Regions from separate parts of the Homo sapiens genome. Here region 1 is linked to region 2. Evidence: promoter capture Hi-C in human tissues and cell types (Jung and others, 2019). All regions are on one chromosome and are shown on one strand. The core of a region is centred on a gene start or on the middle of the fragment in contact, and the rest is flanking DNA. Distances in the headings are between cores, read along the strand shown.

Evidence for each region. Contacts are between HindIII fragments. The study calls those that stand out against the background at their distance.
Region 1: a contact is called between a fragment that was not itself captured here and the fragment with the promoter of BBS9 in region 2, in 1 of the 25 tissues and cell types used here (spleen).

The regions. Positions count from the first base shown.
Region 1 is chr7:32,837,889-32,844,317 of GRCh38, forward strand. It overlaps the pseudogene DPY19L1P2. Among named protein-coding and RNA genes, the nearest start is that of KBTBD2, 51 kb to the right of the region's middle. The HindIII fragment of the contact is 4,977 bases long and covers 1-4,578 here.
Region 2 is chr7:33,125,675-33,132,069 of GRCh38, forward strand. It overlaps BBS9 (Bardet-Biedl syndrome 9), which reads left to right and starts at 3,890. Exons shown (of 23, transcript NM_198428.3): 1 at 3,890-4,367. RefSeq lists enhancers at 3,303-3,352, 3,843-3,952 and a silencer at 3,493-3,792. The HindIII fragment of the contact is 11,941 bases long and covers 1,636-6,395 here.

The DNA.
Region 1 (6,429 bases), core at 840-3,339, 290 kb before region 2:
CCAAGCTAAGCCATCGTATCCCCTGTGACCTGCATGTACACATCCAGATGGTGGGTTCCTGCCTTAACTGATGACATTCCACCACAAAAGAAGTGAAAATGGCCTGTTCCTGCCTTAACTGATGACATTGTCTTGTGAAATTCCTTCTCCTGGCTCATCCTGGCTCAAAAGCTCCCCAACTGAGTACCTTGTGACCCCCACTCCTGCCCACCGGAGAAAAACCCCCCTTTTTCCTTTACCTACCCCAATCCTACAGAAGGGCCCCACCCCATCTCCCTTCGCTGACTCTCTTTTCGGACTCAGCCCGCCTGCACCCAGGTGATTAAAAGCTTTATTGCTCACACAAAGCCTGTTTGTTGGTCTCTTCACATGGACGCGCATGAAAGCTACATGACAGGATTGTTTAAAAACTAAAGTAATTTAAGGGGAAAAAAGGAAATGAGATCAGGAATGTAAGAAGTGCCCTGCTTTCTCTGCAGTTATATAATGCATACTGATTTTTAACATGTACATTCATTTTTCTAGGCCTGGTTGCAGTATGCCTGAAATTTGGGATGTAGAAGATCCTGCCAATGCTGGGAAAACTCCCTTATGTAACCTCTTGGTGAAGGATTCCAAACCTCACTTCACCACTGTATTCCAGAACAGTGTTTACAAAGTCCTAGAAGTTGTAAAAGAATGACTGCTACATGACCTGCTGCCTACGGAGAACTACATCTCTAATGGTTTTAATGTTTTGCTAAGTCATGTGTTGTTCATATCCCAAAAACTTTTATAGGTAACTGTTTTCAAATAGAAAATGTTTTATTTGGTCAATTTGAATGTCATTCTAATTATAAAAATGACTCATACCTTTCATGCGCGTCCGTGTGAAGAGACCACCAAACAGGCTTTGTGTGAGCAACATGGCTGTTTATTTCACCTGGGTGCAGGTGGGCTGAGTCCAAAAAGAGAGTCAGCATAGGGAGATAAGGGTGGGGCCATTTTATAGGATTTGGGAAGGTAATGGAAAATTACAATCAAAGGGGGTTGTTCTCTGGTGGGCAGGGGTGGATCTCACAAAGTACATTCTCAAGTGTGGGGAGAATTACAAAGAACCTTCTTAAGGGTGGGGGAGATTACAAAGTACATTGATCAGTTAGGGTGGGGCAGGAACAAATCACAATGGTGGAATGTCATCAGTTAAGGCTGTTTTTACTTCTTTTGTGGATCTTCAGTTACTTTAGGCCATCTGAATGTATACGTGCAAGTCACAGGGGATGCGATGGCCTGGCCTGGGCTCAGAGGCCTGACATTCCTGCCTTCTTATATTAATAAGACAAATAAAACAAAATAGTGTTGAAGTGTTGGGGCGGCGAAAATTTTTGGGGGGTGGTATGGAGAGAGAATGGGTGATGTTTCTCAGGGCTGCTTCAAGCGGGATTAGGGGTGGCGTGGGAACCTAGAGTGGGAGAGATTAAGCTGAAGGGAGGTCTTGTGGTAAGGGGTGATATTGTGGGGATGTTAGAAGAAACATTTGTCGTATAGAATGATTGGTGATGGCCTGGATACGGTTTTGGATGAATTGAGCGAGCTTAATGTGTAGGGAAGGGAGGGGGCCTGAATAATCCCTGAGGAGTAGTAGAATAGCAGATGGAACACTGAGAAGTTATTTCCTTGAGGATAGATTTCCACGATGGAAAGGAAATGAGAGGTTCTAAGAGGCGGGATAGTGGCTTGTGCTATAGCATAGCCTGCCTTTGCTGGTGTGTGGCGATTAGGCCTGGTGGAACTGCCATCAATAAATCAAGCGTGATCAGGGTGAGGAACAGGAAAGAAGGAAATATGGGGAAATGGGGTGAATGTCAGGTGGATCAGAGAGATACAGTCATGGGGGTCAGGTGTGGTATCAGGAATAATGTGGGAGGCCAGATTGAAGTCCGGGCCAGGAACAATGGTAATTGTGGGACTTAACAAAGAGTGAGTACAGCTGAAGGAGCTGGGGAGCAGAAAGTATATGCGTCAGGTATAAGGAAGAAAAAGATTTCGGAAGTTATGAGAAATGTAGAGTGAGTTGAGCATAGTTTGTGATTTTTAGGGCCTCTAGAAGTATTAAAGCATCGGCAGCCGCTGCATGCAGACATGAGGGCTAGGCTAAAACAGTAAGGTCAAGTTGTTTGGACAGAAACGCTGCAGGGTGTGGTCCTGGCTCTTGTGTAAGAATTCTGACCATGCTAACCATGCCTAGGAAGGAAAGGAGTTGTTGTTTTGTAAGGGATTGAGGTTTGGGAGATTAATCGGACACGATCAGCAGGGAGAGCATGTGCGTTTTTATGAGAATTATGCTGAGATAGGTAACAGATGAGGATGAAATTTGGGCTTGACTGAAGTAATGGGGGCTGTCTGTGAAGCCTTGCGGCAGTACAGCCCAGGTAATTTGCTGAGCCTAATGGGTGTCAGGGTCAGTCTAAGTGAAGGCAAAGAGAGGCTGGGATGAAGGGTGCAAAGAAATAGTAAAGAAAGCATGTTTGAGATCCAGAACAGAATAATGGGTAATAGAGGGAGGTATTGAGGATAGGAGAATATATGGGTTGGGCACCATGGGGTGGATAGGCAAAACAATTTGGTTGATAAGGCGCAGATCCTGAACTAACTTGTAAGCCTTGTCTGGTTTTAGGACAGGTAAAATGGGGGAATGGTAAGGAGAGTTTATAGGTTTTAGAAGCCCATACTGTAGCAGGCGAGTGATAACAGGCTTTAATCCTTTTAAAGCATGCTGTGGGATGGGATATTGGCGTTGAGCAGGGTAAGGGTGATTCGATTTTAACGGGATGGTAATGGGCATGTGATCGGTTGCCAGGGAAGGAGTAGAGATGTCCCATATTTGTGGGTTAAGGTGGGGGGATATGAGAGGAAGATGCAAAGGAGGCTTTGGGCTGGGGAGAAGGGTGGCAATGAGATGCAGCTGTAGTCCAGGAATAGTCAGGGAAGCAGATAATTTGGTTAAAATATCTCGGCCTAATAAGGGAACTGGGCAGGTGGGGATAACTAAAAAAGAGTGCATAAGAGTGTTGTCCAAGTTGGCACCAGAGTGGGGGAGTTTTCAGGGGTTTTGAAGCTTGGCCGTCAATACCCACAACAGTTATGGAGGCAAGGGAAACAGGCCCTTGAAAAGAAGGTAATGTGGAGTGGGTAGCCTCCGTATTGATTAAGAAGGGGACGGACTTATCTTCCACTGTGAGAGTTACCCAAAGCTCGGCGTCCGTGATGGTCTACAGGGCTTCTGAGGCGATCGGGCAGCATGAGTCTTCAACCGCTAAGCCGAGAAGGAGTCAGTCAGAGAGCCTTGGGCCAGAGTTCCAGGGGCTCCGGGAGTGGCTGCCAGGTGAGTTGAACAGTCCGGTTTCCAGTGGGGTCCCACACAGATGGGACACGGCTTAGGAGGAATCCTGGGCTGCAGGCATTCCTTGGCCTGGTGGTCAGATTTCTGGCACTTGTAGCAAGCTCCTGGGGGAGGAGGTTCTGGAGGAACGCCTGGCCGCTGCGGTTCAGGCGTTTGGAAGTTCTTGTGTGCTGGAGATGTGGCTGGGATTTGTCTCACAGTGGAGGCAAGGAATTGCAACTTTTTTCTATTATTGTACACCTTGAACGCGAGGTTAATTAAATCCTGTTGTGGGGTTTGAGGGCCGGAATTTAATTTTTGGAGTTTTATTTAATGTCGGGAGCAGATTGGGTAATAAAATGTATATTGAGAATAAGATGGCCTTTTGACCTTTTAGTTTCTAGGGCTGTAAAGCATCTCAGGGTTGCTGCTGAACGAGCCATGAACTGGGCTGGGTTTTTATATTTGATGAAAAAGAGCCTAAACGCTTCTGATTTGGGATAAAGAAAAAGGAGCATGAACCTTGACTATGCCTTTGGCTCCAGCCACCTTTTTAAGAGTAAATTGCTGGGCAGGTGGGGGAGGGCTAGTCACAGAACGAAACTGTAAGCCGGACCAGGTGTGAGGAGGGGAGGCGATAAAAAGATTACAGGGTGGAGGAGCGGAGGCTGAGGAAGAATTGGGACCTAGCTTGGACTGGCGAGGAGGGGAGAGGTCAGATGGGTCTGTAGAAAAGGAAGATTAGAAACACTTGGTGATGCTTGGGGTTGGGACTGAGGTGACAGGCGGGAGGGAAAGAAGGAAGATTTGGGACGAGTTGCACTGGGCACAGAGACTAGGAAGGGACTGATGTGTAAAAGAATGCCTGGATGTCAGGCACCTCAGACCATTTGACCCTTTTACGACAAGGATTATTTAGATCTTGTAGGATGGAAAAATTCAAAGTGCCATTTTCCGGCTATTTGGAACTACTGTCGAGTTTGTATTGGGGCCAAGCGGTGTTGCAGAAGAAAATAAGGTGTTTAGGTTTTAGGTGAGGTGTAAGTTGAAGAGGTTTTAAGTTCTTGAGCACACAGGCTAAGGGAGAAGAGGGAGGAATGGAGGGTGGAAGGTTGCCTATATTGAAGGAAGCAAACCCAGAGAAAAGAGAACGTAGAGACATGAAGGGAAGGGGTTTGGGGGTTCTTTCCCCCTAGAAAAGCGGGACTTGCCACTAAGGGTGAAGGAGAAGGGGTTGAGGGGTACTTGCCCCTGCCCCAGGAAAGCAGAGAAGGGGTAGAGACAAGGAGAGAAGGGGTTGGGGTACTTGGCCATTCCCCAGGAAAGCAGAGAAGGGGTAGAGACAAGGAGAGAAGGGGTTGGGGTAATTGCCCTTTCCCCAGAAAAGTGGGACTTGCCGCTAAGGGTGAAGGACCAAGGCAGGCGTCCCTGCGTGGTCTGACACCCTTGAAACGTGGGTGTATAATCAGAGAGGCGTCCCTGCAATGATTAAACACCAAGGGAAGACTTCCTTCCCAGTCCGTGACCGGCGCCGGAGTTTTGGGTCCACGGATAAAACGTGTCTCTTTTGTCTCTACCAGAAAATGAAAGGAATTGAAATTAAGAGAAGGGAGAGATTGAAGTGTAGCACCAAGATTGAAAGGAGAAAGAGGTTGACGGATAGTGAAGGAAGTTGGAGAAGAGAGTAAAGAGAGGCCGCTTACCGGATTTGAAATTGGTGAGATGTTTCTTGGGCTGGTCTGTCTGAGGACCTGAGGTCGTAGGTGGATCTTTCTCATGGAGCAAAGAGCAGAAGGAGGGGGGATTGATCTCCCAAGGGAGGTCCCCCGATCCAAGTCACGGCACCAAATTTCATGCGCGTCCATGTGAAGAGACCACCAAACAGGCTTTGTGTGAGCAACATGGCTGTTTATTTCACCTGGGTGCAGGTGGGCTGAGTCCGAAAAGAGAGTCAGCATAGGGAGATAAGGGTGGGGCCGTTTTATAGGACTTGGGAAGGTAATGGAAAATTACAATCAAAGGGGGTTGTTCTCTGGTGGGCAGGGGTGGATCTCACAAAGTACATTCTCAAGTGTGGGGAGAATTACAAAGAACCTTCTTAAGGGTGGGGGAGATTACAAAGTACATTGATCAGTTAGGGTGGGGCAGGAACAAATCACAATGGTGGAATGTCATCAGTTAAGGCTGTTTTTACTTCTTTTGTGGATCTTCAGTTACTTTAGGCCATATGGATGTATATGTGCAAGTCACAGGGGATGCGATGGCCTGGCCTGGGCTCAGAGGCCTGACAATACCTTTATCAATTGGTTACTATTTCAATGCCCCCTTTAAAATTTGCTATGCAAATGAGTATATGCTTGTACTTGACTTCCATATTTGTGCTAAAGTGAGCAAAGTTATCTATATAAAGAAAACACAATGAGTTGTGACAAGGATGACGTGAAAATACAGGACAATTCTGACAATGTAGGGGCTGATTTTATAGTGTAAGAACTATTAATGCCCCTTGCTTCTTTTTTCTGCCTCTTGCTCTTGTCTTTTGGACATTTCAGTGATTGTAAGTTCTTCGGTCATGTCAGCCCCTGTCATCAACTTGAGTTACAGTAGATGGGGCAGACATGGAGTGTTTGCTTTGCGGAACTATCTGTCTGTTTTGCTTCCTTGTGCTCTTTTTGTTCTCTGTTCTCCTGTTAATGAAGCTTTTCCTGCCCATTATTAATCCAAACTCTTGGGCCTTGTGGTTAGGAAATTCCCTTAACTTCCAGCCATGTGGCATTATCATGTCTCTTTCTCTCTCTCGCTCTCTCTCCTCTCCTCCTCCCCCCAACATTTTCTGTCAAATAAGTACTGTTTACTCATTTAGTTGCTTATCAAATACTTATTCTTGGTTTTAAAAAAATTATTGGTAACTGTACTTTTCTTATTTTTTAGCATTATTCAAATGTTTACATTTTAATACTTTAAACCACTTTAAAATTTTTTCATGTTTAATTGTAGTTTTAAGAAAAACTATTTTGAACAACCCCAAATATAGTGCATCTAGAAACTAATGTATATTTGAGTAGACA
Region 2 (6,395 bases), core at 2,640-5,139:
ATCCCCTAAACTGCAGGCAGTTTCTATTTCTGCCACCTTTTTTCACTGAGATTCATTTAATTTCCCTAGTTTCACATTAAAAATGCTGTCTTCTTCATTTAAAATAATAATTTCTTTGCTTTTTTTTTTGAGATAGGGTTTCACTCTGTCATGCAGGCTGGAGTGTAGTTGCACGATCATGGCTCACTGCAGTCTTGACCTACTGGGCTCAAGCAGTCCTCCAACTTCAGCCCCCTTAGTAGCTGAGATTAAAGGCACACGTAACCACGCCCGGCTAATTTTTGTATTTTTTGTAGAGACAGGATTTTGTCATGTTGCCCAGGCTGGTCTCGAACTCCTGGGCTCAAACGATCTGCCCACCTCGGCCTCCCAAAGTGCTTGGATTATGGACATTGCACCCGTCTGGTAATATCATTTCTTGAGGTAGAGTTTTGCTTTTGAAATTTCTCAGATTTCGTATCTCAGTGGTTCAAATTTGCCATGTCTTGCTATTTGATTTCCAGGTCATATATCATTGCATTCAGGTTTTCTCCTCTTTAGAAAGCCTGGGATGGTAACTCTCTCCTTCAATTTTTTCATCAGTTGCTATACAATTTTTTTTTTTTGGTTCTAATTGCTGGTATGGCCTGACACTAAAGGTTTATCCTGAAGGCCTAGAAATCAATGCTCTTTTTCAATATAACTTGATTCTGTACTCTTGGCTTTTCTTGATACATGTGAATTGTTATAATCATGACCTGGGACACATCTTCCTGTATCTGATTAAATTCAAGTACCCTTTTCATCAGATTCGACCTCCAGGTTATCTAAATGAGCTCCCCAAAAGGAGAAACAATCACATTGCAGAAAGTTTTTCTTTACTTTTTTGGTACCTGGCCTAAGGAAGATTATACATTTTATCAACATAATTTCCTGTGTTGCTTTTATTAGATTTGATTTTTTTTTAACCTGAAGTTTAAAATGGTTAAGATAGTTTTAATGTAATTATTTGTATGGCTTTTTAAGCCTTTTGATTATCACTCTGGTTATATAAATGACTTATTTCACAAGTAACTTGTGATTCTGTATTGATACAGTGTTTTGAGCCCTTTAAAAACTTCCTCAAAATCAAATTCCAATTTAAGTTTTTTAAATGTAGAATTAACTTTGGAATTTTCCAGTTGGACTCCTGGAAAGCATTAAAACATATCTTTCTCATCTTTTAGAGGTATTAAATGATTTGGGTTATTTGGTAAATTTTATAAGAAATATTGTCAAACGATAACTGATACTAGATTTTTCTTTTATTTGCATTTATGGGAATATTGTTTATATGAATGTTTGAAAAATTATATAAGTCCATACAAGTATGCTGGGAATGATGGCTCATGCCTATAATCCCAACACTTTGGGAGGCTGAGGTCAGAGGATTACTTATAGCCAGGAATTTGTGTCCAGCTTGGGCAACAAAACAAGACCCTGTCTCTATTAAAACAAAACAAAACAAAACAAAAACAAAAAAAACCAAAAAAAAACCAAGCATGGTGGTACAAACGTGTAGTCCCAGCTACTTGAGAGGCTGAGGCAGAAGGATTGCTTGAGTCCAGGAGTTTGAGATTGCAGTCAGCTATGAATGTGCCACTGCACTCTAGCCTGGGCAATAGAGCAAGACCCCATCTTTAAAAAAAATTCGTACAAATGTATTATATTACCAGTCATAATTCTGGTTATCTTAAAATACTGTATATAATAGCAATAAATAAATGTTCTTCTCAGTTGTTAACTTCATCAGATTTTTAACCATGGCTATTTTAAGTTTTTGTCATCCATATTATTGTTTTGAATTCTTTTTTAAAAAACAGACTCCTGGAAAATATTCTAACAAGTACTCTTTTATTTTTATTTATTTATTTTTGAGACAATCTTGCTCTGATGCCCAGGCTGGGGTGCAGTGGCACGATCCTGGTTCATTGCAACCTCTGCCTCCCTGGTTCCAGTGATTCTCATGCCTCAGCCTCCTGAGTAGCTGGGATTACAGGCATGCGCTACCACGCTGGGTTAATTTTTTGTATTTTTAGTAGAGATGGGGTTTCACTATATTGGCCAGGCTTTTCTCCAACTCCTGGCCTCAAATGATCCTCCCGCCTTGGCCTCCCAAATTGCTGGGATTACCGGCATGAACCATTGTGCCTGGCCCTAAAATATACTCTTAGATTTGGGTTTCTAACAACTTGAAGATCAATGGACAATATAACAATTTCCAGAACTGTAATAAAAAAGTGGGTTCATGAAACTATTAATCAAGATCAGGCAGAACAAGAATTAATTACGTGAGTTTAACTAATGAAGACAATGTTTTTATGATATTATTTCAAATGTTGTTGGTTCTTTACTCAAATAGTTTTTTCCAGATTTAAGAAAATCTTGTCTTTTAAGCTATTTATAATTTACAGCAATTTGATAGAGTATACTTGTGTAAAAAAAGATAAAAACTTTTTTTCTCTTTACTTGATTCCTCCATAATTAGAAAACCATTTGTGAGTCTTCTTATGGTAATATGGTCATTTCAATAAGTCTAATAAAAATCTGCTCTCTCTGTATAGCAGAATACAATTGGAAACTGGTTATATTACCAAGGCTTTGACTGAAAGGTCATTTTTAAAAATATTGAGGCCGGACGCGGTGGCTCACGCCAGCAATCCCAGCACTTTGGGGGACTGAGGTGGGTGGATCGTTTGAACCCAGGAGTTCGAGAGCAACCTGGACATGGCGAAACTCCATCTCTACAAAAAATACAAAAATTAGCCAGGTGTGGTGGTCTGTGCCTGTAGTCCCAGCTTACTAGGAAGGCTAAGGTGGGAGAATCGTTTGAGCCCGGGAGGCTGAGGCTTCAGTGCTTCAGTGAGCAGTGATCCTGTCACTGCACTCCAGTCTAGGCGACCCTGTCAGGGAGACCCAGTCTCAGTTAAAAAAAAAAAAAAAACCCAAAACCCAAAAAACTAAAACTAGAATGGTATTTTCTACTGGGAATGTGGATTTGTGGATTGATGGTGAAATACTGGAAATTTAAAGCCTACACTAGAATCCATTGAAAAAAGCAAACAAGAAAAACTTCAAGGTTGGCTACATTGAATTTGAATGTAAAGATTAAAAAAAAATAAGTAAAAAACAAAAGAAGACATAGATCCAATCCCATATACCAGGAAATGCACTCTAAGGTATATACGGAAAATATATTTAACACATGTGTATCAGGACGCAGGCACAAGTAACTTCAAAGCAGCGCTGTTTCAAATAGTAAAAAAAGGAAAAACTGGAAACTGTTCAAAAGCTTCATCATCTCGATGATCTTGGTCTTCCGCCTCGCCTTCTTCTCCAAGGTGAATATGTACTGGGCCAGCACCACCCCCGCCACCAGGGCGCACACGCTGGCGCTCGCTACCGCGACCACCCTCGCCACGGTCGCGCGGTGCATGGACGGGGCCCTCATGAGTGTCCCGGCAGGAAAAAAACACCGCGATTGGGACTCTCAGAAGCGCAGGATCCCAGAGCACCATGGACAAGCCAGTGACGCCCCGCCCCCACTAGGCCCCACCCACACGCACCGAGGGGAGAGGGCGGTCACGCGGCCGGGGGGGCGTGGCCTGCCCCCGGAGCCCAGGCAGGAGGAGGGTCTTCCTTAAGGAACTGCTGCCAGGACAGGGCAGAGGATTGCAGTAATTATCACTCTCTGCTAATGAGGACCAGGCCGTGGTTCACTCGAGCCCCGCCCCAGTAGCAATCTAATTCCAACCGCGGCCCTCTCAGAAGTCGGTCCCCGCCTTTGCGCCTCAGCCTCTCTGGACTCCAGCCCCCAGAAGTCGGCGCGGCACGGCGTGACCTGCGCAGTGGCGTCCGTTGTAAGTGCTATGACAACAGGGCGAAGATGGCTCAGAGTTAGGCTGGAGAGGGGAGGTGTCCCTTCCGCTGCGGCCGTCGGGTTTCTGCTACATCCCATTCACCGCCTCCTCCATCCTTTCCTCCTCGGTGTGAGCAGCAGGACTTGCATTTGTTCTCGCCTGCCTAGTGTCTTCCAAGGGATAGATGCCGTTTCCTCTGCTGGTCTCTGGGGGTGACGGGGGGCGCAGGGGAGCTTCTTGGGGGAATCACTCCAACTCTGTGGAGCTGGTGGTGCTGCCTGGTGGGGCTCTCTCTTTGCCCGGGACGTGGAACAACTTTCAGCTGGAGGACGAGAGGGAATAGTGAAGCTAAAGGTTGCTTTTCTCTGCACCGTCCGTTCTTGCTCCCTCTGCTCCATCACTGGGACCTTGTCAGGCGTTCATAAAGCAAAATTTGCCGAACGAGGGTTCGCAGAAAGGTGGGGCAGAGCTCATCTGACGTGGCATCAGGTAAGATGGTATGTCTGTTGTTAAACTTCGGGTACATGAATACCCTTTCCATGTTTTATTTTGTGAACAAGATTCTCTAATGCAGTATAATGGTTTGGAGTCTGTAAGGTGATTGATTTCTTAGATGTTTGCACTGAAATAAACAAACACTAGGAGCACAAAGTGTATGAGATTCTGTGAGTACTTTTGAGAAAAAAGGGATGAGAATTTTTAAGGATTCCATTGAGGAATGTCACTTGGAGCATGAGCATCCTCCTGAGACACTTCAACAGGTCTGTGAGTAAATGGGCAAAGCAGTTCCCAGCCTACGACTGAAGTAGGATGCATGTACTAATACCCCCAATCCTTCTAGTAATAGGATTATTGTTTCTCCTCTTGTTACTTGGAGACCACAACAGTTTAGATGAGCTGCGCTGATTTTATCAGCACCTCCTGCCAGTCAAATCCTGCCTTTGACTTCAATTTCCTGGAGAAATGTATTTTTTTGGGTATCTCACTTTTACTTTAAAAATGAAACCGTATCTTACAGGTATACACATCTTACATGTCCTCATTGATAAACAACTTGAAAGATGCTGCAGGATAAGCTATGGGTCTTAAGTTGGCCAGCATTCAGAGAAAGATTTTCTAACTTATTAGCATTTTATAAAGAAAACAATTACTGAGATTTTTTTCATGAATATACGGAAGAATTAAAAAAAAAACTAGAAAACCCAGAAGTTTTTAAAGAAGAATTTTAAAAAACTTTATTTTGAAAATAAGTTACAAGTTATTTGTCAGAGTTTAAGGGATTTTTCCTTGTGTGTAATTGTCGTGGTTAAATTACAACTATACACTTATATTTATGGTACAACTTCTTGATAGAAATGCTCACTGAAGGGAAAAAATCCAACAGCAATAGTATATATAGTAATTTTAAAACTTTTACACCTTTTGAGGGATGTAGTAAGTCTTACGCTTTAGAATACTTTGAAATATTTTTGAAAATTATTAAAATACATGAAATTATTATAAAACATCCCTGCTGGTTAATAACATTTCCATTAGTGATTACTATCAGTCTTTGTGAGTCCCATTTAAAATTTCGGTCCAGAGGGTGAGTTTGGCATTCGTAATTGTGTCTTGCACAGAACACACTACCACCGTCTCTTTCAACTACCACTACTACCACTGTCTCTCCTACTAGCACTGTTTCTACTGTTGGGTTATTACTGACATCTATTGAGTACTTGCTATGGGTTGAGCCATTTTATCCTCCTCCACCCTAGAACAATTGAGATACTAGAGGATAAGGGACTTGTTTAAGATCATGTAGTGTAACGTGGTCAGAAAGTGCACCCAGAGCTGTCCTACTCCAAATTTTGTGTTATTTTGCCCTTTGAGTCTTTTGTTGAAAATTCCAACAGTGAGCCCTTGTATTATTGCCTTCAAAAGCAGTATACTTCTTTTGAACACTACATGCATTTGTCATCTTTCTTTGACTGGAAGACCTGATTTCTACTTTCTTAAATTTGGTGTGACACTGGCATAACCTGGAGAAAGCAAAGCTCTGAAAATGAACAACAGCTGCAAGGTCTGTTTCCAGAACTGACCTTCAAACCTGTATGTTTTTTCCACAGCATTCTTTGGGGTTATTGTTTTCACAGCTGATCATATTGTAGGACTAGGTCAATGAGGTGTTCAAGACCAGCCTGGGCAACATAGTGAGACCTCGTCTTTGCCGAGCATGGCAGAAAAAATAAAAATTATTAAAACTTTTTAAAATATTAAAAAAAGAACAATAGCAAATTAAATTCAGAAGGTCAGCAAAAAAAGGTCAGCCACCTCTTAAATGAAACCTAAATCTGAGTAAACTTGTTGTAGAAAAAAAAGTATTCAAAACAAAAAAGTGTCAAGTGAAGAGTATAGAAGAGAATTTCTGGAGTTTAGGGGATAAGGAGATTATCTCCCATTTATTATTCTAATAAGGCATTAGAAACTAATCTGTTATGCCTGTTTATAGGACTGCACCTGTTACAACCTTCAAAT